Regions from separate parts of the Homo sapiens genome. Here region 2 is linked to region 1. Evidence: promoter capture Hi-C in 16 types of primary human blood cells and fetal thymus (Javierre and others, 2016). All regions are on one chromosome and are shown on one strand. Each heading gives the region's core, a stretch centred on a gene start or on the middle of the fragment in contact. The rest is flanking DNA. Distances are from core to core; before and after follow the strand shown.

Region 1 (3,671 bases), core at 1,008-3,507:
ACTGGTTGTGAGGGTTTGGGACAGGTGGGAAATAGTTTCTGCCAGAGAAAACTGAAATACATGCAATGCTCAACTAACTTGTGCATAATTAAAGACATTAGTTGTTAAAGGGTTGAACTGTACACCCTCTCAAAATTAATATGCTGACATTCTAACCCCCAGTAACTCATAATGTAACTTTATTGGGAGATGATAGTGCAGAGATAATCAATTAAAATGAGGTAATTAGGATGGACCCTAATCCAATAAGACTAGTGTCCTTATAAAAAGGGGAAATTCAGAGACATATATACAGGGAGAACACCATATAAACATCAAGACAGCCATCTACAAGCCAAAGAAAGAGGCCTGGAATAGATGCAGGCTTCATAACATGTTAGTTTTGGATAGCCAGCCTACTGAACTGTGAGAAAATCATTTCGTTGTTTAAGCCAGAGGTCACCAACACCCGGGGCGCCGACAGGTACGGGGTGCACAGCAGGAAATCAGAGGCAGGTGAGCCAGCAAAGCTTCATCTGCATTTACAGCCACTCCCCATCGCTGTCATTGCCTCCTGAGCTCCTCCTCCTGTCAGATAAGCCACGACATTAGATTTTCTTTCTTTTTCTTCCTCTTGTATTTTTGGTAGAGATGGGTTTCGCCAAGTTGCCCAGGCTGGTCTCAAACTCCTGAACTCAGGGCGATCCACCCACCAACTCCTCCTAAAGTGGTGTGATTACAGGTGTGAGCCACCGTGCCCACTAGCATTAGATTGTCATAGGAGCGTGAACCCTATTGTGAACTGCTCATGTGAGGGATATAGGTTGCGAACTCCTTATGAGACTCTAATGCCTGATGACGTAAGGTGGAACAGTTTCATTCTGAAACCATCTCCCGCCAACCTCATCGGCATCTGTGAAAAAAATTGTCTTCCACAAAATCAGTCCCTGGTGCCTGGTGCCAAAAGCCATGCAGTTTGTGGTACCTTGTTACAGCAGCCCTAGCAAACTCACACAGTAATGGAGGCACTGAACGAAAAAGTATATGATTTTCATTGAAGCAAATACTTCATGATGTCTCATTGAAAGACCTAGCTGCCCCCTAGCTAGCTGTCAGTGGAGATTCCGGTGCATTGAGGGGGAAAAACCAGGTAGACAGCACAGAGTTCTGTTTCCAGGTGTATTTCAGTTGAGCTGTGCTGCACATTACAGTAACTCGACTCCTTTATTGCCACTACTTCCCACCGAGTGGGAAGGAAGTGTGGTCTCATAGGTATAAGAAACTCCAATGTGGAGAGGACCCATTACAGAAGGAAGCAACAATCGCATAAATGAAAGAAAGAAAGGGGGGATGAAGGGTTGATAGAGAAAAATGAAAGAGGAAAAAAGACATTGAAAAGAAAACAGAGGCTAAAATGGTGAAACCCCGTCTCTACTAAAAATACAAAAAAATAAATAGCCGGCCGTGGTGGTGGGAGCCTGTAATCCCAGCTACTTGGGAGGCTGAGGCAGGAGAATCGCTTGAACCTGGGAGGCGGAGGTTGCAGTGAACCGAGATCGCGCCATTGCACTCCAGCCTGAGTGACAGAGCAAGACTCCCTCCCCCACTCCCCACCCCAAATAAAAAGAAGGAAAGAAAACAGAGATTCAGTCAACAAGGGATAGCACATCAGGCTGTACACTTTTAAAGCATGGTTATTGATATCTCATTTAAATATCGCAACAACCCTGGAAAGTAATTACCGTATTTATGCTTTGCAGATGAGGAAGCCGAAGCTGAAAGCAACGATTCCATGGTCTGAAAGGCTATGCAGTCCTCTGACAAGTAATTCCTGTAACCTCATTCTTTCCCTTCCCCCTCTCCTGATGGCCCCCTCTCCAGGAATAAACAGAGGTCCCCCATTCCTGGGTTTTCTCATGTTTCTCTCTGCACCAAATCTGCTGAGTCAGGTTTACTCCCTTATCATATAGAAACACAGAAGCCAAACCCCACAAGATGCTGGTTCCGAAGAAACACAGGTTAATTCACTTGGTGATTTCTGTTTGTTCACATAAACACCCGTTCCGCTCCCAGCCTCTTCCCTTTTTCTCCCTCCCCAACTGCAAAGTCCTCCCCCAGCTGCCTCGCTGCCATTCCCTTCCCACCTTCTTTACCCTCCCCGCCGCGCCCGCCCCCCATACCCCGTTCACTACCGTGTCCCTCCTCTGGTCACTCCGGTTTCCGATGGCACCGGCCCAGTCGGAGGGGAAATAATGACAGGGTTGGGTAGGGCAAGGTGTGCCAGCCTCAAGGAAATGCTTTTCAGTCCCTCCTTCCCACTGCGGGGCGTGGCTGCCGGCAAAGGATGGAGTTCGGGCGGGCTCCCGCGAAGGGAAGTCTGCGGGCTCCGAGGTTTCCGGGACTCGCCACACTCGAGCCACAGGAAACCTCTGCTGCAACTGTAAAGGCTGGACTTGTTGCTGATCTATACTCATTTCCTACTCTAGTGATTGCTAGATGTCAGGTATCACGGTGACTCCAGTCCAGGTGAAAACGGAGTCACGATACAGGGCAACAGCGCCACCTCACGGCCGGCCCCGTAGCAGCGGCCTCCATTGGCGCCTAAAAATGGTCAGGATTCACATTCAGGTGGATTATTCCGCGCCAGGAACATTCTCCACCTGAAGGCTTTGCCGGGGTGTTACAAGATAATACTGAAGGGACGGGAGTGGTGGCTTACGCCTGTAATCCCAGAACTTTGAGAGGCCAAGGCGGGTGGATCACCTGAGGTCAGCAGTTCGAGACCAGCCTGGCCAACGTGGCGAAACCCCGTCTCTACTAAAAATACAAAAATTAGGCGTGATGGCGGGCGCCTATAATCCCAGCTACTCAGGAGGCTGAAGCAGGAGAATCTCTTGAACCCAGGAGGCAGAGATCGCATAGAGCCGAGATTGTGCCACTGCATTGCAGCTTGGGCGACAGAGCAAGACTCCGTCTCAGAAAAAAAAAAAAAAAAAAGAAAAAAAAAAGTACTGACCACTGCGGAGACGTGGGGGAACCTATAAGGAATTAATGAGAATTAAAACCCCAAGATTACGTAATAGATCATTCATTTAGAGCCCGCGCGCGCGCGCGCGCGCACACACACACACACACACACACACACACATATATCCCATTATGTCCTGGGTTCTCCTCTGGGGAAACAGTGAACAAGGTAGTTATGTTACCCGTCCACATGGAAACTAAAATAATAGAAAATACTTAAGACAATAGATAGCTGAAGGAATTCTGTTAGATATTAACACCTAATACAAATTCAATTAAAGAAATAAGAGTCATAGGTAACTTGAATATGTGACCAATTTATTCAGCATTGAACGCATACCAAACACAAACTGACAGTCATTAGAGCAAAAAGAACTTGAGTCAATGTAATGTGGCATATTTAGAGATTGAGGTATGTCAGTTCTCTAGAGCTTTCTCTATTGGCATTTTCACTTCCTTCAGGGCTTTTTAAAAACAGGATGAATTGTACTTAATGCCACTGAACTGTTCATTTTTAAATGGCTAATGGTTGATTTTATGTTATGTGAATTTTACCTCAAAAGGGGAAAGGAAGACATCTCATCAGTTAGTTGTTCTTTAGATTCTTTATGTCATAAGTGATACATCAAATCCAAATGAACTGATTGGAACTTCATATTATGTAA
Region 2 (3,481 bases), core at 602-3,101, 820 kb after region 1:
CTTGGGAGTGGAACTGATGGGTCGTATGGGCACTTTATATTTAACTTTTTAGGTAACTAACAAACCGTTTTCCAAAACGGTGCTACTATTTTGAATTCTTACCAGAAATCCATGAGAGATCCATTTCCTTCACCTTCTCACCATCACTTGGTATTGTCTGTCTTTTTAACTTTAGTCATTCTCATGAGTGTTTTATGGTATCTCACTGTGGATTTAAGTTTCATTTCCTCAGTGAATAATAATGTTGAGTATTTTTTCATGCACTTATACACCACCCTTATTTAGGTGTCTGTTCAAATCTTTTCACCACTTTTTTTCTGAATTATTTGTCTTATTATTAAGTAGTAAGAGTGCTTTATATATTCTGGATACTAGCCCTTTGTTAGCAAGTGTCATAAACATTTTCTCCCAGTCTGTGGCTTATCTTCTCATTTTAAAAAATTTATTTTATTTGCTTACTTACTATTTTAGAGATGTATGCTGCCCAGGCTAGAGTGCAGTGACTACTCAGAGGCATGCAATCATTGTACACTACAATCATCAAACTCCTGGGCTCAAGCAATCCTTCCACCTCAGCATCTCAAGTAGCTGGGACTACTACAGGGGCATGCCACTGCACCCAGCTTTTATTTTCTTAATAGTGTTGTTCAAAAAACAAGTTTTTTAGATAAGCAGAAAGTGCGTGTGGAAAAAATAGAAGTTTTAAATTTTGGTGAAGTCCAATTTCTCATTTTTTTGTGGTTCATGCTTTTTGTATCCTATTTAGTGAATTAAAGAAGATATTAAATTCTGTGTTTTTAAATAAAATAAAGCTATAGTAATCAAGTTAATATAATATTGACATAAAGAGAGACATATAGATCAATGCAACAGAATAGAGAGTCAGTCCATTTGATCTTTGTTGTTACTGGGTTCATAATCCCAAAAGATACAACTCAAAATGCCACAATCTCAAATCCCGAAAGGTCAAATTCCTAAAATAAATCATAAAAAATTCTTTAAAAGACATTCATTTACATGTTTTAAAGAGGATTTATTTGAGAAACATAAAAACACAACAGACCATAGGCCACTTTACACAATAAAATGGACAATAATAACATACATATTTTCATAAACATAAACACTCAGGTATGCTAAAGACAGTCACATGGGTATAACAATTATGAATCATATTCACAAAGAAATAGGTCAAAAAGCCACATGGAGGGAAACGACACACACTGGGGCCTACTGGGGGGTGTCGGTGGGGAGGGAGAGCATCAGGAAGCATAGCTAATGGATGCTGGACTTAATACCTAGGTGATGGGTTGATCTGTGCAGCAAACCACCATGGCACACATTTACCTATGTAACAAACCTGCACACCCTGCTCATGAACACCTGAACTTAAAATAAAAGTTGAAGGAAAAAAAGGAAATAGGTCAAAAAGTGAAATGTATAAACGCATATCACTATGGTTAGTAAATGTGTGCACCCAGCTTTCTTAGTTCATCTGAAATACCGTGAAGAGCATCCTAAGTCTTTTGATGAGATCGATCAAAAATTGTGATGGGACAAGTTGGTCCCAGCTCTCAGAGACAGATCAATTCACCTTCTGTATTTGTTATCTCTGGGCTCCTGGGCTCCTGGCCCACGGCATGGTGTCTCCCACCACCAAGGGCAGATCTTCCCCACATAGTCCTCTCAGACTCATACATAATCTCCTGTGGAAACGTCCTCGCAGACACACCCAAAATAATGCTTTACCAGGTTTTTAGTTATTCCTTAATCTGGTTAAGTTTACATCTAAAATTAAGTCCACAAATTCACCTCTTGTTAACATGACACTTACTTGCATCTCCTTACACCATATTTAATTTCCAAATAAAGACCACAACAAGGTGCTAGTTCCACCAAACATGATGCAACTAACATGATACAACTACCTTTTATGCAACCAAAAATGCGCTAATCCCATCGCCAGAATTCAGCTTTCAGTATCTCAACATTTGGGGTTTCAACATTTGGGATTACAGCATTCGGAATTGTGTCTTTTGGGATTATAATTGGCATCATTATTACCACACCTAGAAAATTAATTGCTTAGTATCATTAAGTATTTCATGTTTCTATTTCTCTGATCTTAAAACGCTTTTTCCATTTGTTTGTTTGAATTGTTTTGCAGATATGATTCAGACCCTGTGATGAATTGAAATGTCTCCTAAGCCTCATTTTATCTATAAATTCCTCCTTTTGTCTATTTTTTCTTGCTTTTAAAAATCTTAATTGAAATAGCTGGGTTGTTTTTTCTATAGAATTTCCCCCACAGTCTGGATTTTGCTGAGCTACATGCCTTTAATGCCATTTAACACATTCTTCTGTTTTGTCTATTTCCTATACATTGGTAGTTACACCCTGAGGCTTGATCGGGCTCAGGGCCAATTTTTGCTCTGCAAGACTACATCATAGGTGTCAGCGGTTCTTCAGGAGGCATTTAATGTCTGTTTTCCTCTCCATTTGGACGCGGTCAGTCATTGAGAACCATTATCTGGCTCCGTAAGTGTGCATTCTGAGGCCAGTCCCTTCACTGTGCTTACTCACCAGACCAGTCACACACTAATAAGCAGCTACTGTAAAGGTGGGTGTCGGAGGGTAGAAATAGATAACATATAATTTGACCCGGAAGTAATAGGCAATCCACGGGGGAGCAAACTACAAACTACATTGGGAGACATAAAAACTATTATGGTCCACGCAAGTGGTGAAATTGAAGGCTCTAAAGGTAATATGACATCACAAAGGAGGGGGATAATCAGCATTCTTCAGCCCCTGGCCACCTGTCAGCATAAGAAAGCCTTTGACATGATTTCATGTTCACAATGTTTTTTCAAATAAATCAATAGAATAATGAGGCATCACATGACCCAGTGAAACATCTCAGCTTCATACATATAGTTTAAAAACAATGTAGCTTAGCAGCTGGACATGAAGAAAATATATTAACATTTCAATAGACGGAAAACTTGATATCACCAATAGTAAATGTCCTCTTACCGCCCAAATGTCTCTCCCACCCAATAATTAATGTGATCCTAGACTATATTAGCAGAATTATCAAATCTAGACTCTAAAAGATAATGATTCAATTCTATTCTACACCAGTCAAGACATTCCATGAGAACTACAAGAGGAAAATATCAAATACCATCACATTTACTTCTATACCCATATCTATATCTGTCTACGTGCTACCACAAACTATGGACACTCCTGGCATTGTATTTTTAAGTTGATGATTATACAGAATGTTTAAAAACCCCTGGGCTACACCATGAAGCAGATTTGATCAGTGGAAGCCATTTGAGCTGGTTTCATGTCCTTTTGCCATTTTCCCATAATTTTATTTGTTTGGCTCCTTTTTTTTTTCAGTACAAACATACATACACACACCAATTACATTTACATCTACACCTTTATCTGTATCTGTCTACCTACATAC

Evidence for each region. Contacts are between HindIII fragments. The CHiCAGO score rates a contact against its expected background, and 5 or more counts as called.
Region 2: a contact is called between a fragment that was not itself captured here and the fragment with the promoter of STYK1 in region 1, in 1 of 17 cell types (M2 macrophages). The highest score is 7.3, in M2 macrophages.

Annotation. Positions count from the first base shown.
Region 1 is chr12:10,671,795-10,675,465 of GRCh38, forward strand. STYK1 (serine/threonine/tyrosine kinase 1) reads right to left here and starts at 2,258. Exons shown (of 11, transcript NM_018423.3): 1 at 2,172-2,258. The HindIII fragment of the contact is 4,755 bases long and covers 508-3,671 here.
Region 2 is chr12:11,490,293-11,493,773 of GRCh38, forward strand. No RefSeq gene overlaps it. Among named protein-coding and RNA genes, the nearest start is that of LINC01252, 56 kb to the right of the region's middle. The HindIII fragment of the contact is 6,876 bases long and covers 1-3,481 here.